7 separate regions of the Homo sapiens genome follow, and all the other regions are linked to region 5. The links are contacts of gene promoters, found by promoter capture Hi-C in blood cells and fetal thymus (Javierre and others, 2016). All regions are on one chromosome and are shown on one strand. The core of a region is centred on a gene start or on the middle of the fragment in contact, and the rest is flanking DNA. Distances in the headings are between cores, read along the strand shown. Region 1 overlaps LOC105376187 (a long non-coding RNA gene). Region 2 has its middle 250 kb from the start of GRIN3A. Region 3 has its middle 52 kb from the start of GRIN3A. Region 4 overlaps LINC00587 (long intergenic non-protein coding RNA 587). Region 5 holds the start of NIPSNAP3A (nipsnap homolog 3A). Region 6 holds the start of RAD23B (RAD23 nucleotide excision repair protein B). Region 7 has its middle 230 kb from the start of GRIN3A.

The links. Contacts are between HindIII fragments. The CHiCAGO score rates a contact against its expected background, and 5 or more counts as called.
Region 1: a contact is called between a fragment that was not itself captured here and the fragment with the promoter of NIPSNAP3A in region 5, in 1 of 17 cell types (erythroblasts). The highest score is 7.4, in erythroblasts.
Region 2: a fragment that was not itself captured here is called in contact with the fragment with the promoter of NIPSNAP3A in region 5 in 13 of 17 cell types (naive B cells, naive CD8 T cells, M2 macrophages and 10 more); the score reaches 16.0 in naive B cells.
Region 3: a contact is called between a fragment that was not itself captured here and the fragment with the promoter of NIPSNAP3A in region 5, in 3 of 17 cell types (naive CD8 T cells, erythroblasts and fetal thymus). The highest score is 9.4, in naive CD8 T cells.
Region 4: a fragment that was not itself captured here is called in contact with the fragment with the promoter of NIPSNAP3A in region 5 in 3 of 17 cell types (M2 macrophages, M1 macrophages and M0 macrophages); the score reaches 14.3 in M2 macrophages.
Region 6: a contact is called between the fragment with the promoter of RAD23B here and the fragment with the promoter of NIPSNAP3A in region 5, in 3 of 17 cell types (non-activated CD4 T cells, activated CD4 T cells and total CD8 T cells). The highest score is 16.7, in non-activated CD4 T cells.
Region 7: a fragment that was not itself captured here is called in contact with the fragment with the promoter of NIPSNAP3A in region 5 in 12 of 17 cell types (naive CD4 T cells, total B cells, M2 macrophages and 9 more); the score reaches 16.8 in naive CD4 T cells.

Annotation. Positions count from the first base shown.
Region 1 is chr9:101,836,647-101,840,107 of GRCh38, forward strand. All of the region lies in intron 1 of LOC105376187 (a long non-coding RNA gene), which reads right to left. Among named protein-coding and RNA genes, the nearest start is that of GRIN3A, 100 kb to the left of the region's middle. The HindIII fragment of the contact is 2,532 bases long and covers 928-3,459 here.
Region 2 is chr9:101,983,737-101,987,308 of GRCh38, forward strand. No RefSeq gene overlaps it. Among named protein-coding and RNA genes, the nearest start is that of GRIN3A, 250 kb to the left of the region's middle. The HindIII fragment of the contact is 1,558 bases long and covers 514-2,071 here.
Region 3 is chr9:101,789,072-101,792,467 of GRCh38, forward strand. No RefSeq gene overlaps it. Among named protein-coding and RNA genes, the nearest start is that of GRIN3A, 52 kb to the left of the region's middle. The HindIII fragment of the contact is 2,716 bases long and covers 1-2,623 here.
Region 4 is chr9:102,635,824-102,639,222 of GRCh38, forward strand. The region is part of intron 3 of LINC00587 (long intergenic non-protein coding RNA 587); the gene reads left to right. Among named protein-coding and RNA genes, the nearest start is that of LINC00587, 120 kb to the left of the region's middle. The HindIII fragment of the contact is 578 bases long and covers 1,020-1,597 here.
Region 5 is chr9:104,745,805-104,749,397 of GRCh38, forward strand. It overlaps NIPSNAP3A (nipsnap homolog 3A), which reads left to right and starts at 1,879. Exons shown (of 6, transcript NM_015469.3): 1 at 1,879-2,048. The coding sequence starts at 1,989. It overlaps LOC107987105 (a long non-coding RNA gene), which reads right to left and starts at 1,835. Exons shown (of 5, transcript XR_007061705.1): 1 at 1,645-1,835. RefSeq lists a silencer at 1,773-1,862 and an enhancer at 2,283-2,442. The HindIII fragment of the contact is 7,745 bases long and covers 1-3,593 here.
Region 6 is chr9:107,281,765-107,285,107 of GRCh38, forward strand. RAD23B (RAD23 nucleotide excision repair protein B) reads left to right here and starts at 1,515. Exons shown (of 10, transcript NM_002874.5): 1 at 1,515-1,931. The coding sequence starts at 1,866. RefSeq lists an enhancer at 844-1,003 and a silencer at 1,494-2,053. The HindIII fragment of the contact is 9,258 bases long and covers 1-3,343 here.
Region 7 is chr9:101,963,563-101,966,689 of GRCh38, forward strand. No RefSeq gene overlaps it. Among named protein-coding and RNA genes, the nearest start is that of GRIN3A, 230 kb to the left of the region's middle. The HindIII fragment of the contact is 959 bases long and covers 1,362-2,320 here.

The DNA of each region.
Region 1 (3,461 bases), core at 944-3,443, 2.9 Mb before region 5:
TGCCCCTGTTTCCTTAAGGTTGATAGAAAAAGCACAAAGAAATGAAGATACAGATGGAAAATATGGAATGCTCATTCAAGCTACAGTTTCAAAGCATTTTGATTCTGGGTCATGAACTTTTGAAAACATTTTTTTCCAATGCCCATATCAGAAAGCTAGAAAGATCTCAAATTGACACCGTAACTTCACAATTAAAAGAGCTGGAGAAGCAAGAGCAAACAAATCCAAAAGCTAGCAGAAGAGAAGAAATAACTAAGATCAGAGCAGAACTGAAGGAGCTGGAGACACAAAAACCCTTCAAAAATCAATAAATCCAGGAGCTAGTTTTTTGAAAAAATTAACAAAATAGACCACTAGCTGGCCAAATAAGAAAAGAGAAGAATCAAATAAAAAATGATAAAGGGGATATCACCACTGACCTCACAGAAATACAAACTACCATCAGAGAAAACTATAAACATCTCTAAGAAAATAAACTAGAAAATCTAGAAGAAATGTATAAATTCCTGGACACATACACCCTCCCAAGACTAAACCAGAAAGAAGTTGAATCCCTGAATAAGCCAATAACAAGTTCTGAAATTGAGGCAGTAATTAATAGCCTACCAACCAAACACAAACAAACAACAACAACAACAACAACAAAAATACAAAATACAAACAAACCCCAGGACCAGGTGGATTCACAGCCGAATTCTACCAGAGGTACAAAGATGAGTTGGTGCCATTCCTTCTGAAACTATTCTAAACAATTGAAAAGGAGGGACTCCTTCATAACTCATTTTATGAGGCCAGAATCATCCTGATACCAAAACCTGGCAGAGACACAACAAAAAAAATAAAACTTCAGGCCAATATCCCTGATGAACATTGATGCAAAAATCCTCAATAAAATACTAGAAAACTACATCAAGCAGCACATCAAAAAGCTTATCTACCGTGATCATGTCAGCTTCATCCTTGGCATGCAAGCCTGGTTGAACATATGCAAATCAATAAATGTAATCCATCACATAAACAGAACCAAAGACAAAAACCACATGATCATCTCAATAAATGTAGAAAAGGCCTTCAATAAAATCCAACATCCTTCATGTTAAAAACTCTCAATAAACTAAGTATTGATGAACTATATCTCAAAATAATAAGAGCCATTTATGACAAACCCACAGTCAATATCATACTGAATGGGCAAAAGCTGGAAGCATTCCATTTGAAAACCAGCACAAGACAAGAATGCCCTCTCTCACCACTCTTATTCAACATCGTATTGGAAGTTCTGGCCTGGGCAATCAGGCAAGAGAAAGAAATAAAGGGTATTCAAATAGGAAGAGAGGAAGTCAAATTGTCTCTGTTTGCAGATGACATGATTCTATATTTAGAATACCCTATCATCTCAGCCCCAAAACTCCTTAAGCTGATAAGCAACCCCAGCAAAGTCTCAGGATACAAAATCGATGTGGAAAAATCACAAGCATTCCTATACACCAACGATAGACAAGCATAGAGCCAAATCATGAATGAACTCCCATTCACAGTTGCTACAAAGATAATAAAATACCTAGGAATAAAGCCAACAAGGGATGTGAAGGACCTCTTCCAGGAGAACTACAAACCACTGCTCAAGGAAATAAGAGAGAACACAAACTAATGGAAAAACATTCTAACCTCATGGATAGGAAGAGTCAATATCATCAAAATGGCCATACTGCTTGAAGTAATTTATAGAGTCAATGCTATTCCCATCAAACTACCATTGACATTCTTCACAGAATTAAAAAAAACTACTTTAAATTTCATATGGAACCAAAAAAAGAGCCTGTATAGCCAAGACAGTCCTAAGCAAAAAGAACAAAGCTGGAGGCATCATTCTACCTGACTTCAAACTGTACTACAAGCCTACAGTAACAAAAACAGCATGGTACTTGTACCAAAACAAACATATAGACCAGTGGAACAGAACAGAACCTCAGAAGTAACACCACACATCTACAACCATCTGATCTTTGACAAACCTGACAAAAACAAGCAATTGGGAAAGAATTCCCTATTTAATAAATGGTCCTGGGAAAACTGGGCTAGCCATATGCAGAAAACAGAAACTGGACCCCTTCCTCAAACCGTATACAAAAATTAACTCAAGGTGGATTAAAGACTTAAATGTAAAACACAAAACCATAAAAGCCCTAGAAGAAAACCTAGGCAATACAATTCATGACATAGTCATGGGCAAAGACTTCATCACTAAAATGCTGAAAGCAATTGTAACAAAAGCCAAAATTAACAAATGGAATCTAATCAAACTAAAGAGCTTCTGCACAGCAAAAGAAACTATCATCAGAGTGAACAGGTAACTTACAGAACGGGAGAAAATTTTTGCAATTTACTCATCTGACAAAGATCTAATTTCCAGTATCTACAAGGAACTTAAACAAATTTACAAGAAAAAAACAGACAACCCCATCAAAAAGTGGTCAAAGGATATGAACAGACACTTCTCAAAAGAAGACATTTATGCGGCCAACAAACATGAAAAAAGCTCACCGTCACTGGTCACTAGAGAAATGCAAATCAAATCCACAAGGAAGTATCATCTCATACCAGTCAGAATGGCAGTTATTAAAAAGTCAAGAAACAATAGATGCTGGCAAGGCTGTGAAGAAATAGGAATGCTTTTACACTGCTGGTGGGAATGTAAATTAGTTCAACCATCGTGGAAGACAGTGTGGTGACTCCTCTAGGATATAGAACCAGAAATACCATTTGACCCAGGAATTGCATTACTAGATATATAGCCAAAGGAATATAAATCATTCTACTATAAAAACACATGCACATATATATTTATTGCAGCACTATTTACAATAGCAAAGACATGGAACCAACCAAATACCCATCAATGATAGACTGGATAAAAAAAATGTGGTACATATACACCATGGAACCCTATGCGGCCATAAAAAGGAATGAGATCATGACCTTTGCCGGGACATGGATGAAGCTGGAAACCATCATCCTCAGCAAACTAACACAGGAACAGAGGACCAAACACCACATTTTCTCACTCATAAGTGGGAGGTGAACAATGAGAACACCTGGATACAGGGAGGGAAGCAATGTACACCGGGGTCAGTCAGGGCATGGGGGTCAAGGGGAGGGAAAGCATTAGGAAAAATGGTTAATGCCTGTGGAGCTTAAAACCTAGATGAAGGGTTGATAGGTGCAGCAAACCACCATGGCATGCGTACACCTGTCTAACAAACCTACCCGTTCAGCACTTGTATCGGGGAACTTAAAGTGAAATAACAAAACAAAAGAAAACATTTTTTTAGGAGCAATTTTCTTCCGTCAGTGCTCTAAAAGATCTGCATTCTGTAGTCCTTCCCTCAAAGAAAGCCTTGCCCTGGACTTGAATGCTAATTATAATCATTACAATATTTTCAGTGTATGTACTTTGAAAG
Region 2 (3,572 bases), core at 43-2,542, 2.8 Mb before region 5:
ACAGTCATGGGCCACTGTGCCCAGCCAAAGAAGACTGTATTCAAGACTATTGAAATAGAAGAAAGGGACTGAACTCTTCTTCACTGAAACAAAAGTTAGAAGGGTTTTTAAGCACTTGGATGAGCTGGTGGAAAAGTACTGGTTGACATTAGGGGATAGATTGATCAATGAGATAGTTTGATCACATTTAATTATTCCTGAGTTTGCAAATGTTTTTCTCTGCAAATAGGGCATCTGTGTTTGCTAATTGTTACCCATCAAAGTTAGGTTCCTACCTTCTCAAAGAGACTGAAATATAGTGGTGCCATCTCCTTTGATGTTTACATTTTAAGAGATGGTTCCCAGGTTCTTAAAAAAGACATTTCCTAGACTGTAAAACTGGAAAATAGCTGGGAAGGGATTGACATACATTTCAAAAGGGAAGAGAAAGAATTTACAATTGCAGATTTTCTAAAGTAAATGCTCTAAAAAAAGGAAGGTCAGAGGCTCATTGTCTGGTAGAAATATGTCTAAAGCTTAGTCAAGCTGAGGGGAACTGTTTTTATCATTGGAGTAGTGCTAATGTCTCAAGGAGAGATGACCTCAATAAAGAGTGACTCCCAAAAAGTAGTGCCATGAAAGTTTCTTTAAGAAAGCAGAGACCCAAGGCAGTGCTGAGAGAAGAAGGGCATTTCTTCATACCAAGTCTGCACAGTGATCATTGAAGCAGATAGGAGCAAAGTCTCTGCCAGAGCCAATGAAGAACAAAGTCAATGAAAGATCAATAGGCAGTAATAGCAGAACTGACAACAAAAAGCATTCCTGTAATAGCACCTTTCTGGGAAGTAGATGGGAAGTTTAATTCTCCATTTGGCTAGTGTGGCAGCTGTGGTGCCAAGCGCAGAAAAGTCAGTGGGTGTAATGGAAGGTGGCAACTACTCATAGGTAAATGTGAGCACCCCATGAACCACTCTGGAGTGAAAGGGAAATAGAGTCGTGCATTGCCTAACAACAGTCACATGTTCTGAGCTATGTGTCATTAGACAATTTCATCGTTGTGCAAACATCATAGGGTATACTTACATAAACCTAGATTATATAGCCTACTATCACTTAGGTATGGTGTAGCCTACTGTTCCTAGGCTACAAACCTGTACAGCATGTCACTGTACTGAATACTATAGGCAATTGAACTGTTACATCAAGTTTAGCCTTAAACTGCCTCCTTACATAGTTAAGTTTGGCCTAAAGTTTTTCGTGTACATCATGAACTATATAACAAGTGGAGGGGTAAACCAACCATAGCCCACACCTGTGCCAATCACTGAGTTTTGGGCAATCAAATGTAGCCAACTGTTCAAACCGTGTTCAAAGAAGGCAAACACCAAGATGTAATCAATCCAGTTGTTTCTGTACCACACTTCCAATTTCTATATGTCACTTCCCTTTTTTTTTTGTCTATAAATCTTTTTCCTCAATGTGGCTGCATGGAAGTCTCTCTGAATCTGCTGTGTTTCTGGGGGATGCCTGGTTAGCGAATTGTTCATTGCTCAATTAAACTTCCTTAAATTTAATTCGGCTGAAGTTTTTCCTCTAACAGAACACAATGGTAAATATCTGTATATCTAAACATAAAGAAGGTAGAAGGATGGTAACCATAGGCTGGGAAGCATGGTTAGGGGGTTGGCGGGGAGGTGGGGATGGTTAATGGGTACAAAGAAAATAGAGAAAATGAATAAGACCCACTATTTGATAGCACAACAGGGTGACTACAGTCAATAATAACTTAATTGTACTCTTTTTTTGAGCCAAGTTTCATTCTTGTCACCCAGGCTGGAGTGCAATGGTGTGATCTCGGCTCATCACGGCCTCTGCCTCTGGGGTTCAAGTGATTCTCCCGCCTCAGCCTCCTGAGTAGCTGGGATTATGGTTGCCCGCCACCATGCCTGGCTAATTTTTATATTTTTAATAGAGATGGGATTTCATCATGTTGGCCAGGCTGGTCTCGAACTCCTGACCTCAGGTGATCCACCCACCTTGGTTTTAAAGTAACTTGGAATGTAATTAGATTGTTTGTAACTCAAGGGATAAAAGCTTGAGGAAATGAATACCCTATCCTCCATTATGTGCTTATTTCACATTGCATGTCTGTGTCAAAACACCTCATGTATCCCATAAATATACACACCCATTATGTACCCACTAAATTTTAAAAAAATGAAAATATATTAGAAAAGGTACAGTAAAAATGTGGTATTTTAATCTTATTGGATAACCATTGTATATATAGTCTCTCCTTAACAGAAATACCCTTATGTGGGATATGACTGTATTTGGAAGTGGTTATGGTTTTAGTGACATTGTAGGGGGAAATGATCCTAGGAATTTGTCTTCTTTTATTTCTGATTCTGTAGTATCTTTCCAACTGATGTAGTTTTGGAAGTAGCATACTTAATTAAAAATAATATGTTGTCTTCATTATTCAAATGGAAATTTCAGTTTCAGTTTTGCTACTTACTACCTATGTTATCTTGAGCAAGTTCCTTAAATTCCTTATGCTTGAATTTTTGCTTCTGAAAAAATAAAAATAGAAATCCTGTGCAAGATTGGTATAATGTTTAAATGTATAAAAAGCACAAAGCATGTGCCTGGTACATGACACACCCCCTACAAAGGTAAATCCCCATCTTCCGTTATACTCCTATACATGATAGTCTCCAACATAATAAATTATCTCAATATTCAAGAGTAACTGATGTTAAAAACTTGACTAAGCCATCTGCTTTCTTTAGATAGTCTCTGTGCAAAGAAAGTTTAGAAAGTCAAGAAATTCTTTAAATTATTAAGATGACTGAAACATCCGGCCTCAGTTACTTGGAGAATTCAATTGAAAAAGATATAGTATTTTCTTAGCATAATGACCTCAATTCTCTAATCTATTTTGCATGTTTAGGCATACCTAGCGAGCCAAGAGAACTGGAAGAAAATGATCACAATTTGCAACTAGAATATCACAAAATTCGTTCTAGTAACACTTTTGGCAAGGTGAAATTTTATCATGTAATAAAACACAAATACACTTGTAAGAAATCTCTTCAACTTTTCTCATGCTTTACTAAAAATATAAGAATGCTATGGTTTATAGATTGAACACCACCTTTAAATTTATGACTTCTATCCTATGGAACACATCAAGAGATATCATCTAAAAGAATGATTTACAAAGATGTCATGTATTAAATTAACATTAATACAAATTTATAGAATGTAATCATATTTGTTTATTTTTGATTTATTGCCTGGGCTTTTGGAATCTTATCCAAAAAATTATTGCCCAGAACAATATAATGGAGCTCTTCTGTATTTTTTCTTTCTTTCTTTCTAGTAACTTACAGTTTTTGGTCTTATGTTAATAAGTCTTTTATCCATCTTAAGTTGATTTTTGTATGTGGTATGAGATGAGATCCAATTTCATTTTTCTGCATGTGGATATCTAGTTGTTTTTTTTAAATTTTATTTTAAGCCCAGGGGAACGTGCGAATTTGTTATATAGGCAAACTTGTGTCATGGGGGGTTTGTTGTACAGATTATTT
Region 3 (3,396 bases), core at 16-2,515, 3.0 Mb before region 5:
ATTAAAGGAGTGAACAAGTGAGGTCACAAGAGTCTATCAAAATATCTTGCAGTGGTCAAAATAGTAAAAGTTGTAATAAATTACTATACATAACTTCACAGTAAAATGTATATTGTTTTCTTTTCATGTAATTCACTGAGGTTTTCAATTTTCTCCATTAATTTTTTCATGAAGTTCCAAGAATCATAAAACAAACAAACAAACAAACAAACAATAAAACAAGACAATACCTATCTGACTCTTCATTTCAATTCTGATCCTCACATTGTGCCAACCAGGAAAGTGGCTTCCTTGCAGAATGTCACTTTAACATGATTTATTTTTATCTGAGGGTGCCACATGTTACACACATTTAACATTACATACCTAGATGTATATGACATGGGATAGTATACTTTGTTTTCACAATGTATCACAATGCTTCCTTGGCCTCTGATGTCTCAGTTCTTTTGTGCTATTCATCTTTTCACATCTAAAATTTTACTACAATACTTAACTTTCTTGATCTTCTCCATTATTATTTTCATAAAATTGTAATTTATGAAACATTTCCATGGTTTACAGAGGAGAATATTTGAAATCACAATTGTCCTGGAAAATGTAGGTTATATGAGCACAATCCCTGCAAAGGATCTGCAACATAGAGTTAAGCATTGATTATATGCTAGCATCTGGGGTTTTAAAAAATGAGAGGACATAGAGGATCCTCAAAGAGTTGCTTGGCTCTATTAGCCTTGGAATTGAGCCATTAGAAATGCTTCACTGCAGCCTAAATTCTGGGCCAGTCATGTGTAAGTGTTGTCATAATTTAAGGAGCCTGGTGAAGCTAACATTTTTTTTCCTTCTTCTCTGCTGGTCCCCTTGGGAATTACCTATATTCTGCAGAAATCAAACCTACATGCAACTGGTTATCTTTATGCACACAAATGGGGTTCATTGACATAGGTTTCCTTAAAAACCCCATCCTTCACCCCCAGACACTTAATAAGAAAGTCCTTTAACCTTAGATACAAGTAGAATTATACGTGTTTCATGAAATTTGTCGTTGTCATTGGATCCTGTCACACAGTGGTTTGGCATGAATGGGGCATATTGGTGTTGAGAGGATGAGAGATGAGGTTGGAGAGTTAATGAGGAACCAAATCAGAAGAGTATGTTATGCTACGCTGGGGCCTGTGAACTTTATCCTGAGGGTAGAAGGGTTCCACTAAGCATTTTATTTCATTGTTTTTAAAAATCAGGGTAATGATATAAGCAGATGCATATTTGGACAGTCAGGATGGATGCAGTGTGAAGAATGGATTGAAGGGGTGGCAGGAGGAGGTGCAGGACAGTGAACTTGAGGAATAAAATGGTGACAAGTTAGAAAAAGGGCAAATGGAGAAGGAAGTATAGAAATTGCCTTGAGGTGGGTGTGCGGAGAAACTGGAGAAGGGAGTAAGAGAAGAAACCTGTATTTCTGGCTTGAGCATTTAGGTATCACTCTCAAAGCAAATAACTCACTTGGGGAAAAGATGATGAATTCATCTGTGGACGCATTGAATTTAGATGTCTGTGAGTCATCAAAAAGTATCTATTTAGACGGTTAGGTATTCATCTCTGGAGCCCATGAGAGATATTTGGATGAGATAAAGATTCGGTATTTATTAGCACATAGATGTTAATTGAATCCACAGTTAACTGAGACAGTATTTACCAAGGAGACGGTGTGGAGTGAGAGGAAAAGAAGTCAACATTTGGTTTGCTAATACAGGGACATATAGAGAAGAAAATCCTGTAATGAGATTGAGATGGAGATGCCAGAGAGTAGGAGGAAAACCAGAAGAGTTCATGTTCATAACCAATGAACTCATTAGAGCTCCCATCATTTGTATGGATCTTGAGTTTCCCAGGCAAGAACAGAGTGGAGAGGTGGATAGTTATTGCCAAGGTCTTTAAAGAAGTAGGAGAAGTAGATTATGTTGACTCATAGCGACTAGGAGAAGAGAGTGTGCTATGACTTGATGGCACATTCTTCACGGTGGTAATAATGAAGAGCTTGCAGCATGAGAAAATGAGAAACTTTTTGAGAGGACTGCAGAAAAAACAGTATTTTGAGAGGAGAAACAAACTTAAAGGCATGAAATGGGTGAAGAAAACAGAGGACTGGATACAGAGGATTTTTTTTACTTAGGATTTGACATAGTGAAAAGTTTGGGATAGAGGGTAGCAATAGGTGACTGTGTTAAGCAAAAGCAGCACAGAATATTGTGGTTGCTGACATGGGAGATGATAGCAAACCAGAAGGTTTTCCTTGGGTACTGTCTAAAGATAGCAGGGATTTGGAGTAGGTGGGTTTATCTGTTGGTAAAGTTGCTAGATAATCAGTCTTGGCTCTAACCTGTATGTGGCTAGAGTTCTTGTGTTTCTTATGGCATTATCTTTGCCCAATAGTCCTAGTCTTTGATAGATGAGTAGGTCTAGAGGTGAGATAAACAGCCCAAGGTCTGGTTTGAGGGCGTGACCTACATGAGGGACGCAATTTTCTCCAGAGTGGCAAATAAATGTTGGGTTCTATGTGCCAACCCTTGAACTACATGGAACACGTTTCATCTCAATTTTCAGATCACAATCTGAGGTCTGAAGCTTTTCTTGTCCCTTAAGTCATAGTTACGTAATCCTTTTAAGTGCTTCTATAGTATCATAAAATTTCCTCATCACAGCACTTGTCAAGATATATTATTTCTAGTTTATATAGCTATATCTTCCACTAAGCCATACTATTTAATGGACATGAATTTTCTCATCCGCTGATATATTTCAAAAATCCAGCACAGTGACTGACATATTTCCACACACACACATACCCACACACGTATATACATATATATTTTTGAAGTATGTGGGTGGAGCTGGAATATCCTGCAGGGAATGCACCTTCTATCTGAGGAACTGTTGTGTGACTGTGCTCAGGGGACATGTTTTACAGTAAGGTGAAAGTTTGCCTGGCTCAGGGTCTAGGGAGATGCATGGAGCAGAGGGGTTGCGGGTCTTGTCAGCAGCTCGCATGGATTATGGTCAAAAGAGGGCAGCAGAGGGTCACAGACGAGAGGTGATTTTAAGTGGTGCAGAAGAGTGGGTGGAAGAGAATACAAAATCAGGAGTGAGAGTTTTGGGTGCCAGGGATAAGGGTGGTGCTCTTTATAGAAGCTAATCCTGTTGGGGGGAGGTTTAGTAAGGAGAGAGCTGGGGAATCCCCAGGTGTAAAGAGGATGCTTAAAGGAAAACTAGAATATTAAAACCAAGGAATGAAGCAACCCTCCGTCCTGCTTGTTATGTAGCAGATATCAGAGTTTGACCTTGAAAGTGTGGTCTGCCATTCATAGGAAGGAGGGATAAAAGATGCGGAAGTTTAGT
Region 4 (3,399 bases), core at 59-2,558, 2.1 Mb before region 5:
TGTAAGAACACACCAAGCCACTCATGCAGGATTCACCTCCATGATTCAAATACCTTCCACTAGGCCCCACCTCCCAACACCACCAGGTTGGGAATTAAATTTGAACATGAGCTTTGGTGTGGCAAACTCAAACCACAGCAGATGAGATAGGAAGAAAACTCTGCTAGAGTGTTTGTAAGTTTGATAAAATTACAGCTACTATAGTATAACCCAAATGAGGTGAACGGAATTGTTCTTTGTTCGTGATCTCAGTTGATGAGCCAATAATCACAAAAAGAAAATATTTCTGATGTGTAGGGTAGAGTTATAAGCATAGGGATCATATGAGGTCTCTAGACAGTTTTAATTTCTGAAAATTAATAGGATATGGCTCTAATTTTGCTAAGCAAAAAAAGAAAAAAACTTTGTGAATTAACACCTTTTGTCACACCTATGCAAATAAAATTGATCAAATAAAGTATAAAATTGATGATTTTTATATACAAAATTACAGAACAAACTTACGGGATTAAATCTATGTTTTAGGGACAGAAACTTGAAAAGTAGAGAACGTGGGAACAAAACTAACACATTTTCTGCCAACATTAGGAATAAGTGTGAATAGCATATCCCTTGGTAGTAGGTGGATAGGGTGCACTTTACATTCTGAGATATTCCAAACATAACAGGTTTTTTTTTTTTTTTCCAGCTCCCAAACTCAGTTGATTTCTGAGCCTTTCCTATAACGTTATTGACTCTCCAAGGAAAGTATTTTATCACTGACTTTTTAAATGCTGATATCTGAAGACATATCACCTCCTCTGAAAATATAATAATGATCAGGTTTTGTTTATGAGTTAGGGTTTTACTTGTTGCTCAGGCTGCGGTACAGTGGGATGATCACAGCTTACTGCAACCTCAAACTCCTGAGTTCAAGTGACCCTCCTGCCTTAGCCTTCTGAGTAGCTGGGATTATAGGAGTTTATCATCACTCCCAGCTCCCATAAGAATTTTTTTCAAACTTGAATAGACTAACAGCAAGCTTTATAATTTTGGTAATAATGTGTTTTTTAAAACATTGAAACACATCTTGTGTTTTCTATTTCATTATTTAGTCCTTCTAAGTCTGACAATCTTGCATTTCTTGAAAACAAACTTCTAAATTCTTTTTCTCTTAGTTATTTCTTCACTCAAAGCTAATCAGAGATTTTTCCCTGAGGTTTTTCAGAGGAGGTGAAGCCGAGAATGTGTGAGTCCAGAAATAACTAATTTCATGTTTCCAGCCTCATAGTTTTCACAGAATTGAGACAATTGCATTCAGTCCCAGATTCCTCACTTCCACTCTACTGATCCTTTAATATAATCCTATCTTCTTTTAACTTAAATTAGTTCAAATTTGTTTTGTCTTTTACAACTTAGAGTACGCTTACTAATCAAACAATATAGTATATTCACAACCCTATGAAATGTTCAGAGGGTCAAAAAGCAGTGGTAGAGAGAGGGTCCGAAGAAGCTAGTTGGATCTTGTGGTCACTGGATGAAGTAACAAAACTAAACCAATTTTACTAAGGATGAGGGTTGTCACTAAAGACCCACATGTAATTATTATTTAAATAGAAGCTTCACAGTTAATATGATCAACTTCTATTTCCCTTTGTAAATTCAGCATGGCAACTGTCAATCTATCCTATTATGAGACACATACTGTTAAAAACACAGTTCTGAGTCAAGTGATTGATTTTTAGATATAATTTTATTTTGTGACAGTCCTGGATAGAGAGATACAAGATTTTGCCTGATTGGATTACTTTCCACCTGATGGGTTTTTTTTGTTTGTTTGTTTTGAAGTGATGATTTAGCTGCATACCTGGGCATTCAAGTCCAGTTTCCAATCTTCTCTTGACAACAGCTTCATATTATATTTAGGAATCTCAGACTGATGTCCCCAACATGTGTGCTAATTGCACATGTTTTGCAACTTTCACTGTATTGTATGATTTGCATTATGGTTCATTAGTCTCCTCTACAATTTGACTTGGTCCTAAATTAGCCATTAAACGTAGCTGACTGCCTTAACTACTGTCATTATCGATTTGCCTGTCTTATTTTTACTAGATTGATATTCACTATGTTTAATTTGCCTAAGTTTTTTTCTTCTCATTAAATCAATTCTCCTAGTTGTTCATAACAGTGAGGCATATGGGAAACAAAATTCCAATATGCTTCTTTTGTCTTAAGCTCATTTTAGTCAGATCTTACCTGGGGAGAATTTCCAGCTGTTATATACAGCTTTAAAAGGTAGGGATATTTATCTAACAGTTGAGGAGAATAGCAATTTGGGAAATACATCAATGATTGACATGGGTAAAAGAGAGAAAACATAATACCTTTAAATTCATTAAAAATATAGTCTTTATTGTTTTTTCATATTAGTGAAAATAAATTCATTTTAGAATAGAAATACCAGTACAGACCTCTTTTTCTGGCCATTTACATCCTAATAGAGTATTTCCCAACTTTCCAAATGTATTTATACTTTAAAATTTTATTATTGAATGTTTTTCTTTGCTGATATTTCATCTTTTAGAAGTAAGACAAAAACCAGTTAATTGTCTAAGTAGTTAGCTCTTAGATGCCTGTGTGGATCCACGGTTTTGTAATCCCCCTCCTCCTTAAAAAGAGAGAGGAGAATAGTAGGCACAGGTTAGCAGGGACGAAGAAAAGTTATCGCAATTGGGAAGTCTCTGATTGTGGGAACAGATTAAATGAGTTTTGCCAACCTTACAATTTAAACTAGAACTCATAACTATAAGCTCTTTGATCCACATGCCTTGAAGGAATGGTATTATTATGCATATCATTATACATAAAATGGTATCAGAATATTTGATGCTTCTTTGATGTAGGAATTCAGTTATACTGCAGTGAAGTTCCTACTGGAAAGCCAGAATAAATACTTAATACTTTTCCTTTAGATATTGTTTTTATTAAGAAGATATTTTAATAGTCATGTTAAATAGCGACATACCATTTTTCCTGCTCTTTTGTTCTTTTTTCTGAGTATCATATAGATTCCATAATTTTCATTCATACTTCTATGTGTGTCAGTTCATTAGAATTCTTATACTTAATCCTCACTTTTTCCAAATAATTTTTTTTCAATCAAGACTTTATTAATAAAGTTCCACTGTGTCTACTTGACACGACCCTGTTAACTTTTGAAAGTTTCATTTTTTTCTCATCTGAGAAAATGTTGCAGGGTCATCTAGGTTTTTTTCTGTTCCCAGACCTAGAATCAGCCACTTTCTCAAGGAATCCAGGTTCCTTGAGAACATCCTTTCAGTGATGATTGTGTTACAGAGTGTCTTCTGTAGTTTGGAAGTGTTGTAATTTCTGCCTTGTAAAATCACTGTTTGCTGT
Region 5 (3,593 bases), core at 629-3,128:
GTATAGAAGAGCTACCTGCCAACTAGAAAAACCCACTTTGTATTCTTATAAAAAATAAACTCCTATAGTGTTTGAGTAATAATACACTTTTTTGAGTGTTGATTTACAAGAGCTATTTAATCTACCCTAATTAATATATTATTGAAAGATACTACCAAATGCTGAGTGTTCTGGCCTTCTTCCCTCCTCAGCCTCAGGAAACTGGCAGCAAGGCTTTTCTCACACAGATAAGATACTGGAAGTTTCCCTTCCCTAACACTGACTACACAGATAAATAACTTGCAGATAACAGTTTGGGGGGAGGGGATACAGCCTTCAGTGAAATACCCAGGTCAGATCACCTCACAGTGAAGCCCACTATTTGAAGAGATTCACCTGTGCTTACAGTGCTTTTAACATGTTTTTCTCACTCCAAAATATATTTTTAATGTAAACATCAATAAACGCAGGAAGGAAAGTGTATTTTGAGGGAGTGGTATGAAGAAACCTAAATCCTAAATATCCAAGTCAATAGCTAGAATCCTGACCACTTTTAGAATTCCACTAGCACCTTTATTCGTATCTTACTTTATTTTTCTTTATATTATTTGACAATCCCTGATATATTTACTCTTCCTTTTTTTATCTGTTTCCTCCATCCTGGATGTTCCAAGAGGACGGGACTTTGAATTTTGCTCAATTCTGTACCCCAGTTTCTGGAAAAGTGCCTGGAACATGGAAGGAATTTAGTAAATATCTGTTGAATAAGTAAATGGATTGGCAATTACAGGGTTTAAAAAAAAAGGTCTAAGAAAATAATTTACTCATATAGATCCAGTCCTGATACAAATGATTTTTTTAGTCTTGCATGGTTACAAATAGATGTCTCTCTTCTAGAAAAACTGAGGCAACCCTTCCGAAATAACTAATTTTAAAAAGTCTCCCTTCCTTTGAACAGACAATTCCAAAGCTCTTCCACAAGGCACAACCAATACAACCCAGGTCATGGCCCTGCAATCCCTCCCTAGTCCTCATGATGTAAGCAATATTACATTAATGTTTACAATAATGTAATTATTAGCAAGAATAATGTAAACATTAATATAGATTACTGTAAATTAATAGTGTAATTAATTACTGTAAATTAACATAAGCATTATTAGATGCAGGAAGACAAGTGAATTTGGGGGCAGTGGCATCTATGAGACATAAATCCTCATCTGCCACAGAAGGAAGTCAACACATACTATCCATAACTGAAAATGCAATAAACAGCAGAAAACACTACTTACTTAAAAATACAGAAACAAGCATTAAATGAAACAGCTTGAAATGTTGAAGGTGGTTACTCTGGGAACCAACACTCCCGGACTGGGAGGACTAGACCAGGGTATGTTTAACTTTGACTTTTTCATTTCAGGCTCGATGCTGCCATTTCTCTGAGCTCGTGGAAAATTTAATCTAAATCTTAATTAGGAGCCTTCTAAGATGGAGAACACATTCATTGCAGAGAGGTCAGGCTCAAATACACGTCTATCACAACATCTAAAACTTAACTCGGAAAAAACCTCCACGATTTTAAATACAAAGCACTGCACATGCACGCACTCAACACCTCTCCTTCTTTCCCCATGGTCAACACACCCACAACCCCTGCACATTTACCAATCTACACAACTGAGCACTGGAGCGAATGAGGTGAGTGAGGGCCCAGAAAGTTGAAGCAGGAACGATCCGAGCCTTCAGTTAATCCTAACGTCACCTCTAACGTTTGGGGTAAGAACGTTTCAGGAAACCAAGGGGGAACCAACGCTCAGCACAGCAGAGAAAGACACCAAGCTACGGGACCCGCCGCGCCTCCCGCGCCGGGGTGGAGCTGACCCCGCCGAGCCCCGCCCCAGCCTGCGTCTGCCAATGATCCAGGAGCCGCTCCTTTCCACTCGGGAAACCTTCAGAGGAGTCTCAGAAAGGACACGGCTGGCTGCTTTTCTCAGCGCCGAAGCCGCGCCATGCTCGTCCTCAGAAGCGCCCTGACTCGGGCGCTGGCCTCACGGACGCTGGCGCCTCAGGTACCGGCCACGGGGGTACCCAAGCCTTCACCCGACGGGAGGGGAGGGGCGGGGCGGGGAGTGTTCCGGGTACGTGCGAGCAATGCGCATGCGCTCTCCGCCACGCGCGCCCAGACCTGGGGCCCCGGTGAGGTTCTAGCGTGAGCCCCGGAACCCCAAGACAGGGGTACCCGGAACGCGCGTGAGGAGGAGGCCGCTGCTAGGGGAATACCCCCAGCCGGGGTCGTCTCGCGGGCAGTGGTGGTCAGAAGGCTTTTCTAGCCTGGATGCCACACCCACCGGGACACTCCCATGGCGCCGGCTGTTTCGTTTTTGCTGCCCAGCTATGTCGCGGCTGCGGCCCAGCGAGCGCTCCCATGTTGTCACCTGGCGCTGTGGAGCCGCGGGTGGAGTCGTAGCTTTCCAAGCCACCGCCCTCTCTAGACATCAGGTTGAAGGAGGGAATTGTCAACCAGCCGCTTGCCACGGAACCGGCCTCCCCCTTTTAAATGAAGCACACAACTTCCGAGCATTTCGCGGAGACCCTTGAAGAGGAGGCCCAGGGTCCCGGTGGGGCTGGACCCTGCCCGCCACCCGCGCTTCGTGTGGTCGCTCCCCCAACCAGGCGGGACCGGAGCCTCCTATCAAACCGGACGATGACAGACAGACTCTTTTAACCTTAGATGAGAAATGGACAAAATGGAGCTTGTGATTCTGCCCTAACTTTCGGGAGTGGCCTATTCTGTGGCTTCAACCTAGAAATTTCTTTTCCTTTTGATGTTTAGGACTTTACTCCTTTCTGAAGGGGCAGGATGGGAAGGGGATTAACCTGTCCTAGAGACAGACTGAGGAGCACTAAAGAAGAGCAGCTCATGTCCATTCACCCCGGGTTAACAATGCAGTTTTTACCCTAATGATTCTCCAGTGGGGCAGGGCCAGGAATGACGTCCTTATGGCATGATTCCAAACTTTAAGTTTTTAGAAATGTCCATCAGTTGTTCTCTTTTAAGTGAAGTGGAGGTCGTTGCTGGTGGGAATGATCCCTAACTTGGAGATAAGGGAGGATGGACGACTCATGATTTCTGCCCTAGCAGCTAAAAGTCATCCCTGCAACAAAATTCTTAACTCCCATCCGGCTCCCCCACCATACCCGGCTCCCCTGCAGTCTTCCTTCTCTGGCACCACCTGTCCACATCTCTCTCCCTCTCTCACTGTAGGTTCCCTACTGTATATTAATACTGCCCAAAATTGTAAAAATGTGTACCTTTGATCAACTATTTTATCCTCCAAATACAAATTCCTCGAATCAACCTGAAATCCATTTGTCACAAATGCCCCATTGGCCTATCTCCTGATATATTTTATTATAATAATTTTGAAATTATGGATACTAGGCACTTGCTTCTTGACCAACATTGTTACTAGAGTTTGGTTTAAAAGCACAAAAAGAGTGTCCACAAAAGGCAGGGGCAGCTGCAGCTGTTTTTGTTGGTAGGCTTAGTCATTTGAGCAATAAGAATATAAGTCACACACGAATAGAATTAACTCTAGATAATTATCATTAAG
Region 6 (3,343 bases), core at 265-2,764, 2.5 Mb after region 5:
CCAGCCCTGGCAACATAGGGAGAACATATCTGTACAAAAAAATAAAATATCAGCTGGGAAGCAGTGGTGTGTGTCTGTGGTCCCAGCTACTCAAGAGGCTGAGGTGGAAGGATCTCTTGAGCTCAGGAGGTTGACGCTGCAGTGAGCCGTGTTTGTGCTACAGCGCTCCAGCGTGGATGACAGTCAGACGCTTTAAAAAAATAAGAATAATCTTTAAAACAAAAAACAGGGGAATAGTGGCACACCCTGGGACACAGACTCTGGAGTCATTCTGTCTGAGGTCACATTGTGGATTTGCCATTTACTACTGGCTGGGTTATTCCAGGTGCATTACTCAACATCTCTGTACTTCAGTTTTCTATCTGTAAACGGACTTTCTACTAATAGCTAACTGCTTACAGACTGTTTATCATGATTTTACATACAATATTCAACTTCCCCCTCCAATAATCAATGAGTGACATTATTATTCTCATTCTACTGCTGAGGATCCAGAAGCACATTCACCCATTCCACAAATATTTACCGTGCACCTGCAATGTGCCAGGCATGTTCATGGGTGAACACAGCAAAATCTTTGCCTCTGTGCAGCTTCAGTCTGGGGTTCACAGGAAAAGGAGAAAGATGATAAACAAGAGATACGTACATTACAGGGTAATTATAAAGGGATACCCGCTATACAAGAAAACAGAGCAGGATAACAGAGATAGGAAGTTGGGATTTTAAGTAAGGCAGCCAGAACAGACCTCACCAAGAAGGCAATATCTGAGCAAGGATGTTAAGGGAGCCGGGGGCAACCTAGAATCCACCAGTGGGGAGAGTAAGGCGACTCGGAGAAAGGCGAGGGGCTAATGCATCCGTTCTAATAACTCTGACTTTAACTCGGGGCTAGATGGGGAAACACTGGACAGTTCTACCCCGAGGTGTGACAGAACTTGACCTTCATTTTAAATCGGTCCATCTGTTTAGGCTAGTGAGAAAAAACAATATTTGAACTCGGGCAGTCCAGCTCAGGAGTCTGTGCTGTCGGGATTAAAGAATCAGTCGACACCCCCAGGGCTGAGCCCCGCAGCAAGCGCCCCGCGGGTGCTGGCCCCCAGACTGTGGTTACCGCCATCCTTTCACTTAAACTCCGCCCCGATTACTCCCCCGCTCCAGGGCTCCGCATCCACTCTGCCGGGTCTCCACGAAGCGCTTCCCGGGCTACACATTGCGTAACTTCGGCAGCCGGGCGGAGCCTGCACAGAGGCGGAGCCGCGGCAGCCGGAGAGAACGCCCCAGCAATAGTCGCTAGGAGGAAGCCCCAGGAGCCCTTGCCGCCCACGGAACGCGCCTGCGTAATCCGGGTCCAGGCCGCCGACATTCCAGGACCGCCTTCCGCCCCGCCCCCAATTCTGGGGCGGAGTCCTCGGCCGCGCCGGCGCAAAGCGTCGCCGCACCCCACGCCTGCGCGCTTCGCCCGCCCGGCCCCATCCCCCCAGGTTTTTCGCGTGGGGGAGGGGGCACGTCTCGGCGAGTCACGATGATGGCGGCCACCATCCTGTGGTGAGCTAGCGGATTCCCTGCTTGTCTCGCCGACCCCCTCGCGCCTTCTGCAGACTCCGTGGCTGGCGCTCGGCGCGTGAGGAAGCACGGCGGCCCGAGTTCGCGGGGAAGGCCGCAGTCGCGGAGGCAGCGGCGCGGTCCGGGGCACGGGCTGGGGGAGAGGCCGCTCCGCTGGGCGAATGTGACAAGCCCCCACCCCCACCGCCTTCCTCCCCAGAGCGCGAGGAGCGCGGGCGACCCCGGGGCCCCGCCAGGCCACAGACCCCGCCCAGCGGCCAGCACCCGGCGCAGGCCCGGCAGCCGAGCTGCGCGGCGGCACCATGCAGGTCACCCTGAAGACCCTCCAGCAGCAGACCTTCAAGATAGACATTGACCCCGAGGAGACGGTATGCGCGCGGGCCGGGGGCAGGGGCAGCCGCGTGCGGGCCGCGGGGAGCGCCAGGAGCTCGTGGGGCCGGGCGGCGCGCTCCAGCGGGGGAAGCCCCGGAGGGCGCGATGAGGGCCCTGGGTCCTGGTGCCGGCCCTGGCGGCGTACAGCGGAGCCGATCCTCCTGTCTTGGCCGTGGGCTTTGTGGCAGGAGAATGGGGAAGCAGTGGCCGGACGCCGAAGGCCTGGTGGCAGATGGCGTGGAGCGCACGCCCGCGGGCCTGGGCCTAGGAGCTCGTGCTAGCGGGGCCGGAGGGGGATGGGAAGGTCCAGGCCGTCTCAGCCGTAGAGCCTGGCTTTCTGGTATGGGTGCACAGGTGGGGGAGGGAGACGTAGGCGTCGCCACTACCCCTGTGTGGACCTGGTTAGCCGCTTAGTTCCCAGAGTTGGTAACCCGAGAAGATGAGCCTTAAGAAAAAAAAAAGTATCAGGTTCCGTTTGCCGCCGAGAGGTGAGTGGTGGTGAAAATGAATTTGCCCCTTTCCCCTCAGAATTGTTTACCCTTTTATTTGCAAATGAATCGTTCTGCTGCCTTCCTCCCGCCACCAAACCCACACCCTTGCGTAGATTGCACTTTGAGGCCTCTTTGGTGATGGTTTTAGCTGTTAGAGCTCTTCACAGCCATCCAGGCTCAAACTAAACTTCAGATTTAACGGGTTTTCTGTGTTAGAAATCTTGGAATTGTAGGAGTTGGAACGCTGCAGCCACCCTCCCCCGATGCCCCAAACAGTAGCAGTTCAAGGGGGAAAAAAGAAAAAAAAAACAAAAAACAACAACTTTGAATCCTTTCTGCAGTTAAAGCCTTAAACATTTCAGAAGTCCACATTATACATTTTTCTGTATTTGTGACTGCATAAAGAGACACTGTTGAGGTCAGTACAACTTTATGCCAAGAATCTAAAAACGCTGTGAGTGTAAATTTACTGCTTATGTTCGGAAATACACCGCCAAGATTGTCATAATACTAAGTTTAAACCAGCAGCTTTCTGCCCAACTCTATTTTTAAAAGTAGTTGATTCTATTTTGGGTGGAGATCAGGGGCTTTGGTGTTAAGTAGACCTGAGTTCCATTTGTGGTTTTGTAACTTATTTGCTATGACCTTGGGCAAATTACGGTTAGTTTCATTCTCTGTATAATAGGGATAATACCTGCCTTGCAGAGATGTGAAGATTAGATGGTATGTATTTACTTGGTGGTCAGTAAATGGAATCGATTATTTAAACAATGGATTCCTTTGAGTGGAGATACAGTGTTACGTTTTACTTATCTCATTTAATCTTAAGTTTTGTACATCTTTAATTTTTTAAGAAACAGCCTTTTTGGGATTTTGGTACAAAATTATTTGATTTCAGAATATTTATATGTGGGTGT
Region 7 (3,127 bases), core at 591-3,090, 2.8 Mb before region 5:
TCATTTCTTGGTCCTCAATGTAACAGCTGAGTTTTCTTTTTATTTGGAACTTTTCATATTTCCTAATTTAGGCATTTATTGCTATAAGTTTTCCTATTTGCTTTACTACTTTAGTGGCATCTCACAAATTTTGATACACATTTATATTTTATTTAGTTCAAAATACTTTATAATTTTGTCCTTGCTTTCTACTTTGACCCATGAGTTGTTGAGTATATAATTTAATTTCCAAATATTGGTAAATCTTCAGAAATCTTTTCATAATTGATTTTTTTATTTTTTTAATTTCATTGCAATCAGAGAACATAATTTATGTTACTTGAATAATTTTAATTTTATTGAGACTTGTTTTATGGCTCTAAATGTGATTTATGTTATCTATCATTTATTGGGCAACAACTGTTTGCCTGACATTGTGCTAGGTAGTGGGATTATACTGATAGGAAAATAAAACGCTACTGTATTTTATAGTCTAATAATAGAAATAAATGCAGTTTTTCTTCCTTTCTAATAATGAGTACTTTGTTATATAATGTTAATATCTACCTGTGTATAGATATAGATACGTTTTTGTCAAGTTGTTGGAATTCTGAAAATAAATTAAAATACTTCATTTTAACAGCCACAGTGCTAGCATATTTACTTCTTCTCCTTTCCTTGACCTGAATTAGTAATGTGTTTAAAAATATATTAATTGATATACAACTTTATAGTTTCATCAGCTATCTTTTTTGTGTGTGCTTGATAAGATAAAAAATAATATTTCAGGAGCTCAGGTGGGAAGATCTTGACAAAAACAAATTTTTAAAAAAATTTTTCGTCTTAGAATTCAAAGTACGTAGCATATATAGATATAATTCAAGACTAATGGGTATTATTAGATATCTACTAAATGTGCTATAAGGGACAGAGAAAGAAAAATCAGAGAAAGTTTTATAATCAAGATAACAATTGCCTTCGGCCCAGAGAGCAAAAGATACTAATAAGTGCTTTTTAAAACAGAGAGTTGCTTAAATCATAGATGTAATAAGCACAGCCTTAGAATAAAATATATTTATGGTCCTGGCTGTATTAATTAATAACTATGTGATATTGGACAAGTTTTTAACGTCTCTGAGCCTCATTTTGCACATTTTAAAAATTGGGAAATAACATCCATCTTTCAGAAGTGTTGTGAAATGTAATAATGCTACATTTAAAGCATTTGAAATAGTGTTTGTCTTATAGGCACTCAATAAAAATTAGCATTTGCATGTGTATGATGTCAGAGTTGTATTCTAGTAAGCTTAATCTTCATGCAATATATGAGATTGCTTGGTGGTCGAGTAGGTAGGAGAAGTCAGGATAGGGGAAAATTACAAAGCTTAGGAAAAAAAATTATGACATAAAAATGGCGAATAAATAGAAAACAAGTGGATAAGCAGAACCCCCCAGAGGCAGTGTTAGCCTGTTGCTGAGGTCCTACTATGTTCCAAGCACGCTACATGTAGCAGTCTGGGTCCAATCAGAAGACAGAAACCGTATAGTAAGTTAGACAGGAAAGTTTAATATAACAATCTTTAACTATGATAAAAGAGTAACTATGAGATATAAGAAAGCCCTATGTATTGACACCATAAAGCTGCAGGAGAGTACCTAGGGAAGTACAAACTTGGAAGAGGTTCAGACTTTGCTGGAAACGGTGTGGTTTAGTCTACAAGTTAGCAGAGAAGTTGATTGATTTGGCTGGGTTGGTCTGGAGTTGTTGGGTGGAAAATAGGCAATACTCCAGAATCCAGGTGGTGTTGCAGGTGACCAGAAATTGGTGGTATAGGTGTGCAGTGGAAACCTAGGCGTTAGTGGAGGCAAAAGGTCTTTATAGCATATGGGTCATGTGGGAGTATGTAGGTGCCAGCTGAGCCAGGAGGCCTTGAGATTATGTCCTCTGCCTGGGAGCTCTGCTTTCTATGTGTTATCAAAAGGCTGAGGCTGCCAGGTTGTGGAGGATTGTGTTTTGGGTGTATGGCTGAGCAGTGTTCCATAGGATGTCCTTACATCCACACCACTTAGCCCCTGCCCACATTGGAAAATGCAGAAGAGGCTCTTCCTTCTGTTATGTCCCTCAAGCAGCCTCTGCGGGAGCTTAACATCATGTTCACTTTAAAGGGGAGATGCTTAAGGAACTCCAGTGCTTATCACAGTGTATATATTAAAGAGGGCATATGGAGTGGAGAGGAAATAAGTTGCTAATTGACACCCTACCACACGATGATACAATGTTGAGCAAGATAGGATTTTGTATTAGACTTTATGGTTGAGGAAAGTGAACCTATACTGAGAAAGCTTTTGAGTGACCGGTCATCCATATGAGTTCCTGCATTTTTTTTTTTTACCACTATGAGGAAAAGGAAAAGCAAATGAAAATAATATCACAGAGAAATTTCTTGGTAGGACATTTCTTAATTTTAGAAAGCCGGGATGTTCTTGAAGCCACGATTTTTTAAAAGATGTCTTTTTTTTCTCTTCTCCAGAAAACTTCCTTAATCATGGTAAAAAAAACAAAACAAAACAAAAACAAAAAAACACCAAAAATTTCTTACTCTGGGAGAAAAAATGGTTCTCCTCACATTAAAATTCCAAGTTGCTCAAAGGGCATGATCCTGATTAGATTTTAAAAGGGGTAGGACTGTTTTCTCCCTGGGTGAATTTTGTACTTCTCTCCACCTCCATATCATAAATATAGGACTGCATTTTAATCTTCAGGTCATATCCTATTTTAAAATGTGAAAGTAAAAATGGTACTTTAAAATTGTTAAGAAATATGCTTGTTTAGATTCGATGTATCTTTTGGGGTATGAAAAGGAGACTTTAAAACATTTCTGAGAAAGGTGGCAGTTCAAGGCTTATGAAGCCATCCATAGAAAGAACTAGCTTACAATCAGACTTGAAGTCTGAACAAAGGCTTTGCTATTTTTAGGATCCTTTACTCCATTTAGTGGCAGGAATGGAAGCTGGGGGGAACACTATGGGTGGATCATGAGCTGCTCCACACAGAGATTAGCTCCCAGAAGGCTGCATTGACTGGAACAATTTTGTTATAAATGTAAGGAGATGTTTGAGAGCATGCTAGAGAGCAATTGATTCCCAT